Linked DNA regions of Homo sapiens: region 2 is linked to region 1. Evidence: promoter capture Hi-C in 16 types of primary human blood cells and fetal thymus (Javierre and others, 2016). All regions are on one chromosome and are shown on one strand. Each heading gives the region's core, a stretch centred on a gene start or on the middle of the fragment in contact. The rest is flanking DNA. Distances are from core to core; before and after follow the strand shown. Region 1 holds the start of SAR1A (secretion associated Ras related GTPase 1A). Region 2 overlaps LRRC20 (leucine rich repeat containing 20).

Evidence for each region. Contacts are between HindIII fragments. The CHiCAGO score rates a contact against its expected background, and 5 or more counts as called.
Region 2: a fragment that was not itself captured here is called in contact with the fragment with the promoter of SAR1A in region 1 in 1 of 17 cell types (monocytes); the score reaches 7.0 in monocytes.

Annotation. Positions count from the first base shown.
Region 1 is chr10:70,167,832-70,172,007 of GRCh38, reverse strand. It overlaps SAR1A (secretion associated Ras related GTPase 1A), which reads left to right and starts at 1,494. Exons shown (of 7, transcript NM_020150.5): 1 at 1,494-1,595. RefSeq lists enhancers at 1,000-1,079, 1,213-1,869, 1,870-2,528 and a silencer at 1,210-1,569. The HindIII fragment of the contact is 7,469 bases long and covers 1,113-4,176 here.
Region 2 is chr10:70,328,345-70,332,480 of GRCh38, reverse strand. All of the region lies in intron 3 of LRRC20 (leucine rich repeat containing 20), which reads left to right. Among named protein-coding and RNA genes, the nearest start is that of NPFFR1, 46 kb to the right of the region's middle. RefSeq lists an enhancer at 434-728. The HindIII fragment of the contact is 2,759 bases long and covers 529-3,287 here.

The sequences.
Region 1 (4,176 bases), core at 245-2,744:
GGTGAGCTTGCCCACTCAGCTCCCTGAGTATTGCTGGAGTCCCAGGTGCTACTTTAGTTTTATTTCTGCATGTACTTTAGTCATTTCTGTACTTTGCTCTGTTCCATTGTGTTTTTTGTGTGTGTGTGTTTGTGCATGTGCACGCACACCAGTTTTAATAACTTAGGCTCTATAATATGTTTTAATATCCAACAGGGTTAGTTCCCACCTCCTTGTTCTTCATTTTGAAAGCCTGTTTCTGGACTAGTTTTGTTTGGTTTTCTATACGAATTTTAGGAACAAATAGGGTAATTAAAAAAAAAGAACGAAACCACACACGACCTATTAATCCTATTAGTACTTTTATTGGGATTATGTTAAATTTAAATTTTACTAAAGGAGAATTGAGATCTTCATGAACCCACAGACGTCATTCATCTTTCCATTAGACTGTTTTATTTGTAAAATGAGAGTAATAATAGTACCAATCTCGTGGGACTGTCCTGAGAATTAAATGAGAAAATGCATGCGAAATATACTGGGGTGAACACGTTGCTTTGCCACTTAGCTGTGTGAACTTGGGCATGGTAGGTTATTCTGAACATTGCTCTCTCATTTGTCAATAAGGATAATACTAGCATCTGGAGTCACAGGACTCCAATGACGGTGAAATTAGACAAAGCGTGCAAAGTACCCAGTGCTCTGCCTGGAACATAAGTGCACAATAAATATTAGCTGTTTTTCTGTTTTTCTAAAACATAGGCCACCCCAGGGCAAGGAAGTGCGACTCAAAGCAAAAGCAGCTGGGCGCGGTGGCTCACGCCTCTCATCCCAGCATTTTGGAAGGCCGAGGCCAGCGGATCACTTGAGGTCAGAAGTTCGAGACCAGCCTGGCCAACACGGTGAAACCTGTCTCTGTAAAAATACAAAAAAATTAGCCAGGTGTGGTGACATGCGCCTGTAGTTCCAGCTACTCGGGAGGCCGAGGTATGAGAATCGCTTGAATCCGGGAGGTGGAGGTTGCAGTGAGCCGAGATCGCGCCACTGCACTCCAGCCTGGGCGACAAAGTGAGACTCCGCCTCAAAAAAAAAAAAAAAAAAAAAAAAAGCAAGGAAGAAAAAAAGCAAAAGCTTGGAGGGATCCACCTCAAGTGGAGGGCCCCAAGGTCAACTCATCTTTCCCAGGACCTATGTCACCGTCGGTACCCACTTCTGACTTTCCTGGTGCGTCTGGAATGGGAAGCCGCGATCCCGAGTGTACCAGGCCGCTCAGGGACTCCAGGACCCAGCCCCGGACCCAGGGTTCCGGCGCTGCCACGTCTCGCGCGGTCAGCTAGCCAGACGGGAGCAGGCGGGGCCGAGGCGGGGCCAGACCCCGAGCGCGCTTTGTCACGCCTTATGCCCGCCCCTCCGCGGCCCGAGTCGCTGGTGGGACGGCACCGGGGCAGAGAGGCGTAACGCTGTGAGGGGGCGGGGCCCATTACGCGCCCGGAAGTCCCGGGGAGGGGTGTGACGTACATCCGGCGAGTAGCTGGCGGTCCCGGGTGCTGCTGGTTAGTGTGCTCTGAGGGAGGGTCCGAGCCAGCCGCTGTTTTGCCGGAGGAGCCCCTCAGGCCGTGAGTCTGAGGGTCGCGTCGGGGAGGGGAGTTGGGGCTCGAGGGGCTGGGACGGAAGGCGGGGAGGTCGGAGCGGAGGCTGGCCCTGGCGGGGTTGGGTGGGGGGGAAGTGACACGCAGGCGGTTCTGTGGGGCCGCGGGGCTGATTCTGGGCGGGGACGGGACAACTTGGCCAGATCTGCTCCGTCCCCTGCTGTCCTCTTTGCCTGGGGTCCACTTGCATTCCGCTCGGGGGTCTCGCAGCTGCTGGGCCGGATAACAGTTTCTTGTCTGTACCGTGCGCTCCGGTTTACGAAATGGCTCCATGTCCTCTGTCTCGGAAGAGCCTCACAGCCCTCGGTGAGGCGGGTGGGAGCCCTTTATGATTATCCTTGTTTTGTAGACTCGGAGACTGAGGCTGGCCAAGGCTCCGCAGTTAGCGAGTGTGAGCGCTCGAACCTGGTCTACAGGCCCCTAGTCCAGGGCTTACCCCCAAGTCAGCGCTTGGTTGTCTTCCGATGGCCCGGGTCGAACCCTGTATTTTCTCCTTCTCCCTTCCCCTTTTCCCCTGTCTGGTCTCTGCATGGAAAAATTTCCTTATGTGCATTTGACATGGATTAGCGTTTTCTTCACGATTCTAGCCAGTGGGTCAGGAGCATCTTTGTCTTGTTGATTCCATCGGCTTCGGTTGCGACAGGGGGCTTAGGGAGATTCGCCATGGGGCTGACCTTTGACATTTACCCCGCAGCTAAGCAGAGTTAGCTAAAAGCCAGCCGCCTACTACCCCAAATCTGCCTGGAATGGCGTCTTAAAGTTGCCCTGATTATGTATAACAAGTAATGCGTAAATTTTTAAATTGGCTAATGGTCAGATTGGTGCCCTCCTTTTCTATTAACATTTGTTTGAATCATTTAGCCCTGGAATTCGCAAGTTTTCATTTTAGGTACATTAATAGTGTTTTGTTGATAGTTTAGAGACCTACCTTAAATTTTAGATTACTCTTAACTTCTCGTAAGGTGGTACAATGGACCAAGAATAGAAAATAAATAGAATGCTAGTTATTAAAATACCATTCAAAAGATGTGATGAGTTGTAAGGAAGAGAACTTCGGAAGATCATCCTCTGTGTAGTTGGTGGGTTAAAGAAGTTTTAGTTTTTTTTTTTTTCCCCAGCAATTTTGTGGTTTGGGTTTGAATTTTATGTACTGTTAACAGGAAGAGCTTAGGCTTTGGTGTTAGAGATGAGGGTTTAAGCCCTGGCACTATTACTTTTTCAACTGAGCCGTCTTAAAGGACTCAGCAAAACTAGGAGTATCCTCATCTTTATCTTGTTAAATGAGGCCAGTGATCCTTGCCTGGTAGGGTTGGTGTGGGGATGAAATGAGATGTACAAGTACTGTGCAGATTGTAAAACTACTGATGAGTTGGTACAAATCCTAAGATCTTAAGGAGAGAGGAGCCACCAAGGCCATTTTCAGCTGCTGAGGAGGCTGAGGTGGGAGGATCTCTTGAGCCTGGGAGGTTGAGGCTGCAGTGAGCCATGATGGCAACACTGCACTTCAGCCTTGGAGACAGAGTCTTGGTCTGTCTTAAGAAAAGGGGGGCGGGGGCATTTTCTTAACTTTGGGTAGCAGTGCAACCCGACTCTTTGGATCTAGTAAGGGTTTTTATTATTTTTAGCTCACCTGAAGAGTTTCTTCAGTCAGCCTCCACTCTCATCACTCCTTTACAACCCAACACTTCTATATACATTTGTACTACACTGGTTTTCAGTCAATACTTTACAGACTTGTAAAAAATGTTTACATCACTTTAGAAATTTTTCTTTCTTTCTTTTTTTTGAGATGGAGTTTTTGCTCTTGTTGTCCAGACTGGAGTGCAATGTCATGACCTCGGCTCACTACAACCTCTGCCTCCCGGGTTCAAGTGATTCTCCTGCCTCAACCTCCCGAGTAGCTGGGATAACAGGCGCCCACCATGCCTAGCTAATTTTTGTATTTTAAGTAGAGATGGGGTTTCACCATGTTGGCCAGGCTGATCTCGAACTCCTGACCTCAGGTCATCCACTTGCCTCGGCCTCCCAAAGTGCTGGGATTACAGGCATGAGCCAAGTATTTTCAACTAGATGAATTCTGCAAAGGTGAAAAGGAGAAAATGCCACACTTTAAATAGTTTTTCATGGCAATTGAACTACTTTAATTTTCCATTTTATTTTCCTTTGACACTCCTGCTTTTAAGCCATCTCCTCCCTTGGAGCATACAAATCAGCAGCAGCCGGGATTTAGCTACTTGGATGCTTTAATTCTTCCCTCCAAAATGATCTGAGTGGGAATGACCTTAATGAGGGGTGTGCTCTAAAGGTGAGCTGTGCTTCTCCAGGCAGTAGATTGAGAAAAGTATAGGAGGATGTTTGGTTTGAGGGAGTTGCAGAGGAAGGGCACATTGTTCTTTTACTTATTTACAGTAAATGGGAATTTCAGCACAGGAGCTTTATTAAGTATATTTAAGTTGTTGGACTCCTTAAAGTGCGGACTCAATTTCCAGAGAAAACTATTAGTTAATGTGATAAATGCAGTCTTTCTGCTGAAATATATTTGTTATTG
Region 2 (4,136 bases), core at 659-3,158, 160 kb before region 1:
GTAGAGACAGGGTCTTGCCATGTTGCCCAGGCTAGTCTTGAACTCCTAGACTCAAGTGATCCGCCTGTCTCAGCCTCCCAAAGTGTTGGGATTACAGGCGTGAGCCACTGCACCTGGCCTGCCTTAGTCTTTTTATGGAGGCAGAATGTTTAGTACTTCATTTTAGTCTGTTCCAGACCTTGTTAAAAGTGCTTTTTCTGCCCTTCCCCTTGTCCACCCCCAAGGAGTGAGTGTGGCATCTGGAAATGCCCTCTGACCCCTGTGGGCAGCAGCTGTCTCTGTGTGAAGCCTCCTCAGCACTGAGCATGGGCTGGTGGAAGGACACTGCCCACCTGACCGTCTGACTCTGCCCTGCTGGGGAGTCCGTGCAGTCAGGGACTGTGATTGCTCATTGCCGCAGGTTCAGAGCCGAGGTGCTGATTGAGGTTTGGTGAGCAGGTATTTTTGGAGTTGGCACATTCCTTCGAGCATGGGTTGTATAATTACTGCAGGCCAGCCTTGTCTGTCCCCTAATGGAATTGGCAAGCTTCTCTCTCAGCTGGGGTTAATCTAAGGCCTCTGAGTCAGCCTTGGCAATTGTCCAAGATAAGGATGGTACAGGAAGTAATAAGAGGAACTTGGGGAAGAAGAGGTCCATTTAACAGACACCGGAAACCACAGTTCAGTAGGTTTAATCAATAAGGAAATGTCATGATGGGGGCTGCTCTCAGGCTGGGTACAACGTTGGGAGTGGAATGGAGTGGGATCTTTTTCCAGAGCCCCGGTCCATCCTGGGAGCCCTGGTTGTTCCACTCTGAACCCTGGCCTGGTGCAGGAAGAATCTTTGGAACCCCTAATGCAGTCTTCTGGGACCAGAAGATCTCAGCCCTCTCTGTCCAGAAGAGGGGGCAGTAAGACCTTGGGCAGATGGCCTGGGTGCTGTGACTCCAGAGGTGAGAAGCAAAGCCAGACGTGGCTGTGGCTGTGTTGGGCTGGAAGCCCAACACACTGGCCGATCCCGTGGCTGGGGCTTTGGCCACACTTTTATTCTTCCTCTGAACTGGAAACAACAGAGAAAACCTTAAATGCCTGGTTTGGGGCCATATAAGAGATAAAAAGAAAGCCAAGGCATCAGCAGCCTTGCTGGCCCCAGTTGGCCTTCGTGGCCTCAGTTTCCTTATCTGAGAAATGGGGAAACATCTACTCCATAGTGATTTTGTGAGGTTGGAGATATTGCTTATAAGGTGCCCTGTGTAGGGTTTGGTGCATGCAAGATTCTTGATGAGTGATGCTTCTGATACAGTGATGGTGAAGACACTGGGGGGCTTAGTTGTAGACAAGAGAGGTCTCTGGCCAAGTAGTCAGGATGATGGTCCAGTCATAGGAATCTCTCTCCACAAGGAATTTCAGTGAGAACAGAACTGGAGAGATCCCCAAGTCCACGTCTTCACGGATGGGGACCCTGAGGCTCAGAAGGGAGAAGTGGCTTTTCTGACCTGCCTCCAGGAAGATGTAGGGCGAGACCTCAGTTCAGGGTCCCCGGGTCCCCGGTCAGGCTCTTTGCCATGGAAGCAGGTGGTGTGGTCACCTGCTTCTCAGCTAATGCTAAGAGGCTGTTTTTAACTGGTTGTGTATATATACCTCACCTTACCGCACAGAGGATTTGTGGAGCTTGTGACGCAGGCAGCTTGGGTAGAGCAGTGGAAACCACAGTGGGAGCAGAAGCAACTCAGAGACCCTGCTGGGCCGTGGCTTCTGAGAAGTGAAGCTGGATGGCTGGGAAGAACTTGCTCTCTTGCCGGTGCCTCCCCACCCCATCAGGATGCATGCCCCATTCTGTCTAATTCAAGGCCTTTCTGTGGAATGCTTCCTTCCCATGGAGCTCAGATTTGGCTACCTGGAGATTTACTCTAACAATTTTGGTGGAATTTGGCACATACATTGACATTCATAAAGCCCTAGGGGTTGGACAAGTGGGTGACTGACAGGGGTGGGACATCCATCCCCAGGAACCTGCTGTCTTTGCCCTCCCTTGGGGAGGGGGCCTAGAAGCAGCTCCATGGTTTGGTTCCCACTCAAAACCTACCAGGTTTATTATAAACAACTTTATTCTTATAAATTTGGCAACTTAGAAGAAATGGACCATGTTCTTGAGAACCACAAACCACTAAAACTCAGCCAAGATGAAACAGACAACCTGAAGAGACCTATGACTATCAAATAAGTGGAATTCATAAATAAAAAGATCCCAAAGAAGAAATCTCCAAGCCCAGGTGATTGCATTGGAGAATTCTATCAAACTTTTAAAATGAGAATTAACATCAATTTTACACAGCCTCTTCCAGAAAATAGAAGGGAAGGGCATACTTCCCAATCCATGCTATGAAGTTGATATTACTCTGATATCAAATGCAGACAAAGACAGTATAAAAAATGTGAAAGAAAAAGAAAATACAGACCAATATCTCCCAAGAACACAGATGGAAAGATTCTCAGCAAAATATTACCAGTCAAATTCGGCAATGTATAAGAAGAATATATGACATGTGTAAGTGGGATTTATCAGTTATTCCAGGTATGCAAGTCTGGGTCCAACTTTAGAAATCAATCAGTGTAATCTATTATATGAAAAGGCTAGGCTGGGCGAGGTGGCTCACGCCTGTAATCCCAGCACTTTGGGAGGCTGAGGTTGGTGGATTGCCTGAGCTCGGGAGTTCGAGACCAGCCTGGGCAACATGGGGAAACCCCGTCTCTAGTAAAATACAAAAAATTAGCTGGGCATAGTGGCGGCATGCACCTGTAATCCCAGCTACTCGGGAGGCTGAGACAGGAGAATCGCTTGAACCCGGGAGGCAGAAGTTGCAGTGAGCCGAGATCGTGCCACTGCACTCCAGTCTGGGGGACAGAGCCAGACTCCATCTCGAAAAAAAAAAAAAAAAAGGCAAAAGAAGAATCACACAATCATATCATTTGACAAAGAAAAAGCATTTGACAAACTCCAACTCTCAGTACACTAGAAATACAGGGAAACTACCTCAACTTGGTAAAGAGCATCTTCAAAAATCCTACAGCTAACATCAGACTTGATGATGAAAGCCTTTCCCCCAAGCTGGGAACAAGGCAAGGATGTCCACTCTCATCCTTAAAGTTCTAACCACTGCCATAAAACAACAAGAAGAAGAAGATAGCTTTTCCCTGGGCTTTTTGCCGAACTGGTTTTTTTCACTCTGACCTCAAATGCCTTCCTAGCGATCTGAAATAACCTTCTTTTCTTGTTTACTATTTCTCCCTGCACTTGTCTGTAAGCTTGTTAAGGTTGGGATCTAGTCTGTCTCATTGCCACGATTTCCCGCTGTCTAGCAGAGCCTGCCCTGTGGTAGGTGCTGAGTAATATTTTTTGAGTAAGTGGAGACTGTGTTGGCATCATTGGCTCTGACTGGCTTCCTGCAATCCATGTGTCACAGTTGCACTGACCCTCTCTTATTTTCCCTTTTGATTCCTGCTATCATGTTGGCTTTGAATTTTGTTTCTGCAAAGGTTCCATAATCCAGGAACCAAGTGTCATGTGTCTTCTATCTCTAAGAGAGTCTCGCTCTCACTCTGTTGCCCAGGCTGGAGTGCAGTGGCAGGATCTTGGCTCACTGCAACCTCCGCCTCCCGGGTTCAGGTAATTCTCCTGCCTCAGCCTCCCAAGTAGCTGGGATTACAGCTGTGTACTGCCATGCCTGGCTGATTTTTGTATTTTTAGTAGAGACAGAGTTTCACCATGTTGTGCAGGCTGGTCTTGAACTCCTGGCCCCAAGTGATCCACCCACTTTGGCCTCCCAAAGTGCTGGGATTACAGGCATGAGCCACTGCGCCTGGTCTTGTTGAGTGTATTTAATTTTCAAAGATTACCCTTTTCTGACCGGGCATGGTGGCTCATGCCTGTAATCCTAGCACTTTGGAAGGCCGAGGCGGGTGTATCACCTGTGGTCAGGAGTTCGAGACTAGCCTGGCCAACATGGCAAAACCCTGTCTCTCGTAAAAATCCAGAAATTAGCTGGGTGTGGTGGTGGGTGCCTATAATCCCAGCTTCTTGGGAGGCTGAGGCAGGAGAATTGCTTGAACCCAGGGAGCGGAGGTTGCAGTGAGCCAAGATCACACCACTGCACTCC